Linked DNA regions of Homo sapiens: region 2 is linked to region 1. Evidence: promoter capture Hi-C in 16 types of primary human blood cells and fetal thymus (Javierre and others, 2016). All regions are on one chromosome and are shown on one strand. Each heading gives the region's core, a stretch centred on a gene start or on the middle of the fragment in contact. The rest is flanking DNA. Distances are from core to core; before and after follow the strand shown. Region 1 holds the start of SEMA3D (semaphorin 3D). Region 2 has its middle 200 kb from the start of SEMA3E.

Region 1 (7,111 bases), core at 2,009-4,508:
TATGACTAGTTTTAGAGAAGTAAACATTAAAATGACATGCTTTTTAACACAATTTTTCTTGTTTGCCTCTGTGTATAAACTTTGAGGTCTCCTTCATCAATAATTTTCTTTCAAATTCACCAAATTTTCATTTGATTTGTGAATATAAAACTGTTCAGAGAGAACTAGGATTGTAGATTTTGTTGGTTTTAGTATCTTCTGCTGAGAGGACAGCCAAATCTTCTGCTAGATTTAAGCTCTGGACCCAGTAATTACCTTTCTCCTGTCTTCTGTTCAGAGGTAGCTATATGTGGAATTGGAGAAGCCTACAATATGTCTATTCTACCCTAACCCATCCCTGCTGCCTTCTCCCATGGCTCTCAACATAGATGGATGATTACTGAAATTCTACAATTAGAATTTTATTCTTTGGATTTGTTTGGCATTAAATGTGATCCTTTGAGAAATAGTGTATTTCATATTGCCTAACACATATTACTACCATAAAATGAAAATTACTTACTCATATTATATTTGTGAGCCCAAATAGAGATGGGTGAGGAGTAGTATGTCTCAGAATAGCCTAGATTCTCAAGGCACACAATTTATTTATTCAATAATGTTTCCAAGAACATGAAAGTTATTTGTTTTCTTTCCTTTTTCTTTTTGTTTGTATTTTTCCCCTTGGACTGAAACAGGCATACAAGCAACAATTAGGTGGTTTTAACTGATGATATACACATCGCTTTCAGTGAAATTAAGGCTCACTCGTTAAATCTTGAATAGTCACCCTTGAAGACAAACTAAACTGCACAATACACCTTGTATTTTAGCAAAACTTTTTGTAAAATATACTTTTTTTCCCACTGGGTTTTATTTTAAGAATTTAGATAGGGTATTAGCCCTATAGGACAGAATACCAAATTGCTTTTGATGAAAGTAGATCTCAAACTCTTAGAAAGGGTTGTTAAAACTATCTTGGTGGGACCCTATACAGTTATTAGAAATTCAGAAATAAATCCAGTGACTGAATATTAACATTATTTCTACTGTTTTTATTAACTCGTTTAACACACAAATATTTGTTAAGCACCTAACACATTCAAGACATTCAGGGAAGCAGCCTGAAGATTACGGAGCCATGGACACAGCTGAGGCCATTCATCACATTGGGCAACATATTAACAGTTGATTCCATCTGCTTTGTGCTCAGAGTCATTAAAAGGAAGGAAAGCACAGAATTCACGTTCCAGATGTTGTTTTCTCATGATATGTTCAGGATACTCTGGTAAATTCTGTCTAAATTTGAAGTCTGAGCATCTCAAACTAAATCAGTACAATACAATGTCACAGGCATTGTATTAGAGGCTGAAGAAACAAAGACACAAAACAGCCAACACTTTTGTATGGGATGCAGACACATGCATAACTAATTATAATATAAAGTGAAAAGAGCTTATTATAGTAGTGAAATCAAAGTGCTTTGGGAAAACAGGAGGGAGTGATTAATTCTGTAAGGGCTTTATGGAAAGTATTGAATGGTAGCAAAGGAAGGTGTCATTTGGTTTAAGCATATTAAGCTACAACTTAAAAGAGAAAGGAGGAAAATGGGAAATCCAAAGTTAACCACAATTCTAGTTAAACACAAAATTCTGGCCAATAAACTGACAAAATTATTTAAAAGTTTAAAAATAGAGATTTTCTAAAAATCAAAAACTACTTACTATAAACCCACCATATACGGGAGAAAAAAAGAGATATTTTATTTGCACAATGACATTGCAATTTGCATGGAAGTGCAATGACATATACAAATGAAAATAATATAAACACATAGAAACATACAATAAACAATTGCATGACTATGTACAGAATGAGTGGTATAACATTAAATATAAAGCATTCAGAAAAAAAATAAAAGTTGCTATAGTTTGAAATAGTCTACGAGGATTTAAAATTTTTTTCTCTATCCAAAGAGGGTATTTATGGGGTTGATTGGTTGTGAGTCCAAACCAAGGTTATAGAGATGGGGCAGCATGAGACACAAGAAAGAGCCTTGGTCAGATTTGAGAAACCTGAGCCTTTCCTTAGCCTGACTCTGCCATCAACCATTTATAACTTAAAATGACTCCTTTAGCTTCTGTGGCCCTCAGCCCTCTGCCACAGATAAAAGGTCAAATGAAGAATGTCTTCCACCCCTTTCAGTTATTCCATTACTGCATTTGTCTGTTCACCATCTCCAAATCAAGATATCTCTTGTTACTTGCTAAGGAAGCTTTGGGACCCTACACCTTGTGCTCTTAAATCAAGCTGACAAATGCAGGATCCCGTGGCTGCTTGCTTTCCATGTCTCTACCTCATGTCAGATTTATGTTTGGGACTAAGGGCAAGGTGTGTGACTATAAACCTGGATATCCCATCACAAAGGATTTACCATGCAGCTAAAAATGCCTAACGTACAGGGCTCACCAAATGCACAGGCCTTTTTAATGTCCCTGACGGTGGCCTCATGAACTCTCATTGTCATATATTTTTGCAGAATCTGTAGAAGTGAGATATTTCTGCATTACTTTTGCTTAAAGAGGATCCTCTATTCCAATTGCATAGGATCCAGGTTCATCAAAACTTAGATCTTCTCGTCATTATATACTTCTAAGTTCCTACTGTGTGAATAAGGGGTGCAAAAATCTAAAAAACTCCCGAAGACAAGGATATGAGGCACACCTCTTTGTAGGTCTGGCGTAAGGGAAAGAGGAAGAAAGGATTACATTCTACTCGTTTTTATCTCTCCCTGTTTGGTCTTAATCGGGTGCCAGCCCCTTAACGGAGGGTTGATCCCTGTTCCTCATCCCTATGCCTGCCTTGTCAAGGCCATTAACCGTGGATTGAGGTTTTACATAGTGGAACGCAGGTACTGTTTTGTGGGATTAGCATTTTTAGGACGGTGTTTGTGGTCACTCTCCCTGTTTCTTCCTCATGGGGTCCCTTAACAGGTTTTATGGTATAGAGAAGGAACTAAAGAAGTCCCCAAGTCACCCAGAAGGAAGATCAGACGTTAGAGGTTGCTTTACACATAGGGTGCCCTGTCCTGATAAACATCCGTCAGCGCTTGGCCAGGGCTACCTCTAAATCCACGCTGCTGGCAGCCTCCGCGCAGCAGGGATGAACTTCTGCACGCTTGGGAGTTCTGGCGTGCGCAGTGGAAGGAGGGGGCGAGGGCTGGGGGAGGAGATCGGAAGGGGAAAGGTAATCCCCGGCGTTTTCAGCATCCTCTTTTTAGAAAGACTGAGTCTCTCCCAGGACAGCTGCTGCGGTCACACCACAAACTTAAAAGCCGCCCTCCTGTTTGGAGCGTGCCTTTCCTCGCCACCCTCTCCTCCCCAAAGCTCCAGCTGGTGCCTTGCTCTCCGCCTGTCCTAGCGCGGCTCTCGGGGGAGGCAGCAGCGCCCCCTGCCTCCCGGCCTGGCCCCTGCGGCCGCAGCTTCCCGGCTCTGCCAGGGCTGCCGGCGGCTCCGCTTGCTCAGCCAGGGCTGCGGCTCAGAGGAACGCGCGCCGGTGCCCCGGGTTGCCGCGCCGCTGGACCTCAGCCTGCATCCCGTTCCCCTCTCCCTGAAAAGGCACCAGGAAAAGAGAGAGGGAGAGAAGAGTTCACAGCAGGTAAGTCTGGTTTGGGTCACCTGCTACTCCAGTGGGAGGGTGTGCTGGAGACCGCGGTGCTAAGCGGGGATAGCCGGGATTTGGGGGTGGCTGTGGGTCCGAAGTGGAGGACGAGCATGGTTTGGGAGATAAGGAACCGTCCTGAGACAGAGAAGGCTCCCGGGAGCGGACAGAGAGTGGGCGAAATCGGTGCGCAGTAATCGCGGCGCCAGCTTCAGCGCGGCCCCTGGGGCGCAGTCCCACCCCGCCTCAGCAGCTGCGGAGCCTTCTGACGAGCCTCCGCCTGGCAGCACTGCACAAAGTTTTCCTCCTGAGACGCGTCCAGGAACTTTGCTCTCTCCCTGGCTTCCTGGTTCCCCCACCACCCCTCCTGGTCTGGGCAGCAGAGAGCGTCTATGAATGTGTCCCCGGCTTCCGCAGGCTGCAGGTTCATTTGGAGACGCTTTAGTCGGGAACATCCGGGGAGTACTTGACCAAAGGGCATCTGCGCCCTCGCTCGCTCCTTTCCTTGTTGGTCTGGGAGAAGGGAAAGGGGCAAGGAAGAAGGAAGGGAAGCGTGGTGGTTTTTGTTGTAGCGTTTTGGAAGAGGAATGGGCGACGCCTTTTTCTTCGCCGGGGAATCGCGACGTTCCGTCTGATGGAAGTGTGCATCCTTTTAGATTTAGAGGGAAAGTTGGAGTCAAACAGCAGCCACAAAGCTGGCTGTCTGAAATGTGGTTAAGGCAAAACACTCGGGGGATCTCTTTGTAGTAGTGGGCTTGGCTCGCTTTGGAAAGGCCGGATTTGACTCGTGCTGGGCATTTAACCAGGAGTGCGGTCCCCAGGGTGTTTCCTCCCGGCTTCTGCCCAACGAGCCTGGAGTTAATGCGTTAATGGGCTACCCTGGTAGCGCACGGGCCGTTTTCGGCACTGTTTCTCCTTCTCTGATGACTCGAGTTCAACCTCCTGGGCTGAGTTGCTTTGCCTCCGTCACAGTGCAAGGAGGGAAGTTGACAGGAGGAGGAGACGCCGCGCTGTGGCAGGGAGCTTTGGGATCCAGGGGACTGGAAGAGAGCCGCGCGCCAGCAGCTGGGGCCGCTGGTGTCCGGGATTCCGAGTTATGGGGACAGGAGTTAAATAGCCGAACTTTCAGCGATTTCGCCTCGAGCGAAGCGGTAATAAAAGGCAAGCTTCTGTGCGTGGACTCTTATTTCATCACCAAAACCCCACCACTTTCCGTTTAGCTTAGTGCTATTTGCACAAGCAAAAGAAGAGGGGAGAAGACCTAAACTTTCCGGTTTAGCCTAAAAAGGGTTCTCCTGCATGTGTGCGCTAGCGGGGGATGGCGGGGTGGGGGCGCGCAGAGACGAGGGGGAGGATCTCCTAACAGAGAGGGAAGGGTTGAGGCGGAGGTAGAGGAGAGGTCTGAGACATCTCCTGGGTCTGGTGCTGCTGCTATTGTGTAACCATGGCAACCGCGGGGGCAGGGGTGGTCAGAGCCTTCCCAGTTCTGCACGTGGAAAGAAAAATGTGAAGGGCAGAGAAGGGAGAGAGCCACATGTCATCACTCCAGTGATGCCTTGCCTTCTCCTTTTTGTTCTCCTTTTCCTTCTCCTTTTCCTTCTCCTTTTCCTTCTTCTCTGAGGCCAGATAGCAAGGAGGATGAGCAAGAAGACACACATGTCATCACTCCAATGATGCCCTCCCTTCTCCTTTTCCTTCTCCGAGGCCAGACAGCAAGGAGGATGAGCAAGAAGATCGGGGTTGGGAGTGATCAGCCCCAGCTGGCCACTGCTTTAACCCAGTCGGGTCTTAGAGTCTCTGAGACTCGCCCCAGCGGATAAGACGGGTCAGGGGTGCCATCGCTGACAGGCGCAAAGTGATGGCCCTGGTCAGGGAGATGGGCAATGACCTTGGCTCTTGGAAGGGAAAGGCCAGGAAATACAGGAAGGTGATGTGGGACGAGATAAGAGTAGGGTCAAGGGCTGACAGACAGTAAAACAGTACTGATTCGAATTGCCAAAATTTCCAATGGAATTTGCCCAATTGTGAAATGGAAAGTTCCTAGAGAAGGGAAGAAACATTTATCAAACACCTATTGTGTTTCAGGTGCTGTGAACTTTATCACAATTAATATCCTCAACAATATGATACAAGTGTCATTATTCTCTTATTCTTTTCTTTTTGAACAGAAAAGAAAAAAAAAACAAAGACATAAAGATTTATAAATGGGTATTGTCCCATTTTGGCTTTTATGTTCTTAATGAAGAACCGTAATTCTTAAAAAAAAATTGTATTGCTGGGGGAATAAGCTAGGTAGTTATTATTTTAGAGATGATAATAAATGAGATGCAAAAATGTTGCTTGATGTGCCCAAATATAAGCTAGTAAGGGCACGAACTGAGATACGAACTGTTTTACCTGGGTGTGGGTCTCCTTTCAGAAACTTCAAGAAAGTTGTCATGACCCCACTTAATGGGAGGGCTTTCTAAGGTCAGTTATGATGCTGTATCTGTATCTGTTATCATTTACATGTGGAGAACACTCAAAATTTTAAATGCAATTCATGGTTGAGAATGAGAATGAACCACATCAAATCGATAAGCCCAGAATCGTATGTATGTGATATTAATGATCTATTCATACCTACAGGTTTCATTTTCCTTTGTAGGAATTATTAGTTTCTTTAACAATGTCCGTAAAGGAAAAAAAAAAGAAAAAGAATTTATCAAACAGAAATCCCATGGTTGTATTAAGAACATTTCCTGAGATTAGTTAGGTTTTCCTCAGTCTACTTATTGTCCTCATGACCTGAATACCTAAAAATTTACTTCGTATTTCAGTACCATTGGTTCACTTTTGTAGTTCACTCTGGTTACTTTCCTGTTGATGTTCTGAGATGGGAGGTTAAGAAAAAGTATCTGGCAATGTAAAATGTTTTGGAATTATCGGGAAACTATCATCAACACTAGCAGAAACTAACGATAAAAGATAGAAAAGTAATTGCTGTGGCTTTCTTTTGCCTTTCACCAGAATTGCCTTCATAGGTAAGTCTTTACTAATGATTTGCTTTATATTTTGCAGAGGAAAAATACACAAAGAAAAACTGAATTTGTAATCTCTCTTTTATGTGTGGGGAAGACTAGTAAGCGTGGGAATGGGAATTATTTTTGGTGGCAGGGAAGGTCAGGAATATGAACAACTAGAAAGGCAGAGGAAGCATATCTTCTACTGTTTCCGACAGGCTAACAGACCGGACTTCAGGTTTGAACTTGAGTCACCAAGCTGATTTACTCTCACATATTTTTCTTTTCCAAAACTAAAAAGGATATTGCTTGGGGTTGAAGTTAAATTAATTCAAGAAGTTTCATAGTCTCCAGTTATTCTTCATACTGTGCTCTCAATCCATTGCATGGATATTTGTTAACTATCAAAAGGGTTATCATAAACCAGAGGTGTCTCTGAAGATAACTTCGGGGGTTGGCAAGCATCTCTG
Region 2 (7,111 bases), core at 2,247-4,746, 1.3 Mb after region 1:
AATTGAATGTCATAAGGTTGAAAAGGTGAAATTCTCTATGAACTTGTACATATTAGAATTTTAAAAATAATCGTTAGAAATGTCATAAAGGAACAAGAGGTGAGAATAGACTGCTATTTGTCTCATGTGAGGAGTAAGTTAAGCAAGTTGTTAAGTAAAACATGATTCAGTTTCAACAGACATTAACTTTATTTTCTTAGGATAATTTACAGCCCAGACGATCTGATCCACATTGAGACTTATAAGGAGCTTTACATTTATTTAAGTCAAGAGAAATGGTTTCTATCTTTCTATTCTCCAATGAGGAATATTCTACATTTTGTTTCACAGAATTGTGAATCTGATGTTGAATATAATAAAAAAGTAGGTCATGGATTGAATTTTTAACTTTACAAAGTGGATTTTGCAGGAGAGTTAGAAAAAGAGAGATAAATAGAGAGATATGTGTAATATACATAAACACACACACACTGGCATTTTGTAATTGAAACTAATAAATTATTAATATAACAAGAAGAATTCTCATTTTTCCAGATGCCCAATACAGTAGGCCTTACAAAAGATTTAAAAATATATAAAATATCTCTACTATATTTTTTCCCAGAATTTGCTGGGAAAATATGCTGAATTTTAACATACTAATTTTAAATGTTTTCCCAACAGAATACTGGATTTTAAGCATTCAGTTTTAGTGAGAAATTATAAGGGAAATCTAAACTTGATTTAAAGTCATAATAAAAAATACATTTTAATAAATCATATATATATTACTGTATGTACTCTGTACAATGAATCTTTATAAACTGTTATTAAGGATTTTTTTATTTTGGTAAAAGATACACATTGTGCCATTCAATAGTTCTGACATTTGTAAATGTGCCCATTTAAATAAGTTCTTAATGCTAGCACACAAGGAAGAAAAGCATTTCCATGAGTTAATTATGTTAATGAATGAAATGACAGAATCTTTCTTAGGTTATTGCCATTTTTTTCTTTTAGGTGGTCAACAGACTTTAAGTTTTGAAAGCAATAAAGGTATTTTTTGACATATGACAATTATCTTGGTATGAATCCCTTAAAATAAAATTTATCATGCTCAAGCCATGAAAAATCAGGAAACAACTTCTTCTAAGTAATAGTAATAAGTTTATTAGCAAAATAATGAAAAACATAAATTTCCCTAACGATATTTTTGTTGGAGAAAATATGTTTATCTATAATCTATCCATAGTCTAGAGTCATCTAAATAAAGAAACTTAGACTCTGTGCAACTATTGAGAGGACATTATCTGTCTCATTGAATGTATCTACCATTCCAAAACTCAGGAGTAAAGCACTTTTACATGTAGGTGACATTTTAATATAGTGCAAAGAACTGTATGTTAGGAAGACACTTACCATGGGGCTTTAAGCCATCAAAAACTTACATTTTCATAATCGTTGTGTAAAGATGATGGTATTTTTTTAAGTTGTGACATAAAATATTGATTTTAGGGATTAAATATTAAGCATAAAACAGAATTCACACAAAAACATACAAAATCTTTATCTTTGGTTTAATAACAGGAGGCTCAAAAACCTAATAGTAATATCTATTCAATACCTACTGAACGCTTACAATGTGCCAGGCACTACTTTAGACAAAAATAATGTACCAGTAAATGCAGAATGCAAGAATCTTCTTTGCTTTCTCTTCATCCTGACTGGTCTATATTATTTCTTCTTTTCTATCCTACTTTCTGTTGGATGTACTGAAAACTATTATCAATTATTTTTTTCCTAATACTGATTTAATCTTTATTATTTTAGTGGTCAGTCTAGGCATGTGCTACCCAATGTTTAACCACCAGCTATAGGTGAATATTAAATTTAAATTAATTAAAATGAAATAGAATTTAAAATTCAGTTCCTCAGTCTCACTAGCCACATTTTAGTAGAGTCATTAGGATTTTATAATAGACTGGGTGAGGGATAAAAAGAAAGGGTACTATTAATTCTAAAGCCTATGGTCTGAGCATTGTCAAGAGCGGATTTGCTATCAACTGAGATGGGAAAGTCTGTGAATGGAGATCAGTAATTCATTTGGAACACATTAAAGATACCGATTTGACAACTAAGTGAAACTGTCAAGGGGGCATTTGGCTATACAATCTGGTGTTCAGGGGAAAGTTTTGGATTGAGGATTCTAATTTAGAAGTTAGCAGTATAGGGGTGATATTAAAACCGGATGAGGTCAACAAAACAACAAGTATACATAGAGAAGAGAAAGGGACTTTAGGTATGCCAAAACTAAGAAGGATGGCAAAAGCTGAGGAAAGCATATAGGAGAGTTATGTCCTGGAAGCCTAGAGATATGATTTGGCTGTGTCCCCACCCAAATCTCATCTTGAATTGTGGGTCACATAATTCCCATGTGTTGTGGGAGGGACTTGGTGGGAGATAATTGAATCATGGGAGTGGTTTCCCCTAATACGTTCTCGTGATAGTTAATAAGTCCCATGAGCTCTGATGGTTTTATAAGGGGTTTTCCCTTTCACTTGGCTCTCATTTTCTCTTGCTTGCCACCATGTAAGACATGCCTTTTGCCTTCCACCATGGTTGTGAGGCCTCCCCAGCCACACGGAACTGTGAGTTTATGAAATCTCTTTTTCTTTATAAATCACCCAATCTTGGGTATGTCTTTATCAGCAGTGTGAATACGGACTAATACACCCCGTAACAGGTGTGTATCAAAGGAGGAAAGGTGATCAACCATATTAAATACTTTGATAAGACAATTAAGGTGAGAACCAGAAATAAATCATTAGATTTTATCAACCTGGGGGTGAAATTGACAGAAGCAGATTCTGAGGAAGGCAGGGATGAAAGCTTGATCAGAATGCGTTTAAGAATGAATTGGAGAGGGGTATTTGAAATAGGGCTTCCAAATGACTTTTGTAATTCCAAGTGACTTTTGGAATATTTTTTGTTATAAATGGGATGGTAGCTCCTACAAGTTGGGTCAAAAGAAGATATGTTTTTAAATTGGGAAACAATAGTTTGTTTATATGATAATGGGAATGAACTGATAAAAAGAAAACATTGGTAGTGTAAAGAGGAAAGAAAATAAATCGTAGAGAGAGGTTCTTGCTTAGATGAAGGAAGAAAGGATCTATGCTCCCATGAATTGATGGATTAGTCAGGCCTGCGGAGTGTTCTTTCACAGTAATGGATAGAATCAGAGATCATGCACCAACAAATAGGTGTTGGAAGCATCTATAGAAGATGGAAAGAGTCTGTGGAAGTTCTCTCCTAAATGCTTGCTTTTCTCAGTGAGATCGGTCATTGAGAGTGACCATAGGGAAGAGATATAGGGGGTTAGGAGCAAAAGATGAAAGTGAGGGATAGACAGTCTGTGATGCATAGCATCACTGCCTCACAATACTGAGAGGACATCAAGTGAGATAAGACCACGTTCTTGTGTGATCTTTTTCCTGCTTTCATCTGCACAGATGCAGCTGTGGAATAGTAGCATTTAACCATGGTTGTGACTTTCTCAAGCTGGCATGCCAAAGAATTATATGTAAGGAAATTAATTTTATGTACAAGAAAGTATTTAAGCTGGGTAGAAAGTGGACAGACAATCTGAGGGAGTGAAGGACACTGAAAGAGAGTCAGATCTAGAACAGTAGTCCTCAATGGATCGTCATGAGGTTCTCAAAGATCCTTTCAGGAGATCCAGAAGATCCAAGTTTTCATAACACTACTAAGATATTATTTGCCTTTGTCACTCTTATTGCTGATGACTTTGCAGTGGAGTTTTACAGCTCATAGGGGGTGATATCACAATAGATTTAATGCAAAAGAAAATATGAGAATCCAGCTGCCATCTTTTAAACCAGACATTAAAGAGATTTGCAAAATGTAAAACAATGCTAATACTGTTTTCTCTAAATTTGCTTTTGCTTTGCAAAATATAACAATCTCCCAAATGTTAAATTTTATGTTAAAATGGGTTGTTCCTGTTAACATATAACTAATTTATTTTTGCTATTTTAATTAACATATAAATTATTTTTAATTTTTCACTTTAAATTTATAATACAACAAATAACCAAGATGCTACTCACATAAATAAAAGCTTTTAGGCATCCTCAGTAATTTTAGGAGTGTAGAGTTTATGAGACTAAAAAGTTTGAGAACTGATGAATTAGAGGAAATGATAAAGTCAAAACTTAGTTGAAGTCATTGTAAAAGAAAGTGAGCTTAAAGATAGGAAGTGATGATAAGAGTATAATGCATAGAATTGAGATAGGAAAGCAGTTAACATTATTGAATGCAAGGTCTACAGCAGTGCTATTCTATAAAATTTTCTGTTATAATAGAAATGCTCTGTATCTGTGCTGTGCAATATAATAGTTACTAGCCACAACTGGCTAATGAGCATTTGAAATGTGGCTAGTGCAACTGAGGAACAAAATTCCAATTTTATTTAATTTTGTGCATTTACATTAAGAATAAATAGTCACATGTGTTTACCATATTAAACACTTCAGTACCGCTATAAGTTTGTCTGAAAGAGGTTTGAGGACGAGATTACCAGAGAAGAAGTATTCAGCAAACTGAGAGGCCAGATTATTGAAAGCATCTATGAATACATTTTATACACTGGAATCATCAATAATTATTACATTAATCATCAGAACAAGTTAATATTTATTGAGCACTGTATTAATCCATTTTCACACTGTTATAAATACCCAAGTATGAGTAATTTATAAAGAAAAGAAGTTTAATTGACTCACCGTTCTGCATGGCTGGGGAGGCCTCAGGAAACTTACAATCACGGCAGAAGAGGAAGCAGGCACCTCTTACATGACTGCAAGCAGGAGAAGTGAAGTGCGAGCACAGAAAATACTGCCACTTTTAAAACCATCGGGTTGGACGCGGTGGCTCATGACTGTAATCCCAGAACTTTGCGGGGCCTAGACAGGCAGATCACCTGAGGTCAGGAGTTGGAGACCAGCCTGGTCAAAATGGTGAAACCCCGTCTCTACTAAAAATACAAAAATTAGCCGGGCGTGGTGGCAGGTGCCTGTAATCCCAGCTACTTGGGAGGCTGAGGCAGGAGAATCGCTCGAACACTGGAGGTGTGGGTTGCAGTGAGCTGAGACTGTGCTGTTGCACTCTAGCCTGGGCGACAGAGCGAGACTCCATCTAAAAAAAACAAACATCATCAGATCTTGTGAGACTCACTCACTATCATGAGAACAGCATCAGGGAAACCACCGCCATAAACCAGTCACCTCCCATTGGCTTCCTCCCTTGACACGTGGGGACTACAATTCAAGATGAGATTTTGGTAGTGACACAGAGCCAAACCATATCAAGCACCTAATATGTACCAGGCTAACACTTTCATTTGTATTTACTCTCCAGAATGACTCAAATACTATTATTGGCTCCATTTTACAGATAAGAAAACAGAGGCAAATGGCCATTAGGTAATACACTATGCAAGGTAACACATGGTTGAGGCAGATTTAAGCCCAAGTATTCTGATTTCAGAATCCACTCTTTCAGACAGTACATTATACTGCCTTTCTTATTTGAGGGTGCTAATCTTTTAAAGTTATTCTTTAAATATTGCAGGTAGCTGAAATGACACAAGGTGCACACTATGCTAATTGATGCTACAGGGATCCTATCAAAAGGGATTGTGATGCAAGTCAAGCAAAACTCCACCGATGGAAAAGATATCACTAACTTAGAGGTGTGCCCTGGAAAATGTTCAATGCATTTTTGTACCTTATCCCTAAAGGAAGTTTATTGATGACAAAAATTCAGTTTCTAAAACGGATGTCAAGCTTACCGAATTTACATTTTCAAACTGAGCTAATTAGTCCCCAGCTATTTCAGTGGTGTTAATAACTGTAAACACTGAACAAATTATTTGTGATAACATGGAAACACTGAGTAGACTTTCTTTCCAGGGTACATTTATGTATTTTCATGGCAGAGGTGAGATCGCTTTCTGAGGACATAAGACAATGCCACATCAGCTTTACAAAATTCTTATCCCTACTGATTATGGCAGCAAGGATACAAGAAAAATGTTTTGCTTATAAGCACATTTGAGTTAATAATAAAATACAATCTTTAAACATCTCTGGTAACAGAATAAGAACGGTATCACATTTAAAAGAAGACTTCAACTGCTTTTTATTAAAGATTTTGTTACCCTAAGAGAAAAGTAGACATATGAATTACTTTGAAGTTAATATTTATTTACTTAACTTCTATTCCTATTTTGTATTAAGCACTTAACATCTAAAACTAGTTGCTGAATCAGAGAAGCAGCGTTGGAAGAAGAGTACCAGCAAAAACATGGACACTCCTTATGGAATTAGGCTCTACCAATTTTAAAAATCATGTAGATAGAAATCATTACTGAAAATGATAGTACTAATATTTAAAAAGTCTTCTTTAAAGCTAGAGTCAGGGAACTGAAGCTAATGTATATGAAGTCTATGAATATATGTTGAGTTTTGTAGTGTCCTAGGCACCATCCTAGTTAATGGAGATCCGGAGGTGATCAACATAAGCATCGTCCATGCTTTCCAGTCGCAAGGAATAGTGTTAGAAAATTAAAGGTTAGAAAACTAAAGCTGAAATATTCAAGCTCCCATAAAAGCTGAAATATAATAGTGAGGGGTACTCATCAAAGTCAATAAAAATTCACAAATCTCATCATATAACTTTTAAAAATAATTAGATTAGTTTTTAGGAGACATTTGTCAAGGGTAATGTGAGTTTGCTTATATGGTAAACAGTATTTAAAGGCCTAATGTTATTCTCTGTATTTTCAGTGCCTCTATGGTGACATCAGGAGTTATTGTACCTCTTTTGTACCTTTTATTTTTCTATCTGTCAAATTATCATAATGACTCATATCAGTTAAAAATTCTTGGGGGTGTAATTAGCCATGCTTACTCTTCAAAGAGCCTTGAAAAAAAATTATTGTCATCATGAATTGATGCTTGTAAAGGTTTGGCAAACTTTGTTGATATTTATTATATTGTATTTAATATAAATATTAACATATAGAATGGGCATTATAATCCATTATTAA

The links. Contacts are between HindIII fragments. The CHiCAGO score rates a contact against its expected background, and 5 or more counts as called.
Region 2: a contact is called between a fragment that was not itself captured here and the fragment with the promoter of SEMA3D in region 1, in 1 of 17 cell types (activated CD4 T cells). The highest score is 5.6, in activated CD4 T cells.

Annotation. Positions count from the first base shown.
Region 1 is chr7:85,183,203-85,190,313 of GRCh38, reverse strand. SEMA3D (semaphorin 3D) reads left to right here and starts at 3,258. Exons shown (of 19, transcript NM_001384900.1): 1 at 3,258-3,636. RefSeq lists a silencer at 3,387-3,446. The HindIII fragment of the contact is 2,551 bases long and covers 2,257-4,807 here.
Region 2 is chr7:83,841,268-83,848,378 of GRCh38, reverse strand. No RefSeq gene overlaps it. Among named protein-coding and RNA genes, the nearest start is that of SEMA3E, 200 kb to the right of the region's middle. The HindIII fragment of the contact is 1,252 bases long and covers 2,871-4,122 here.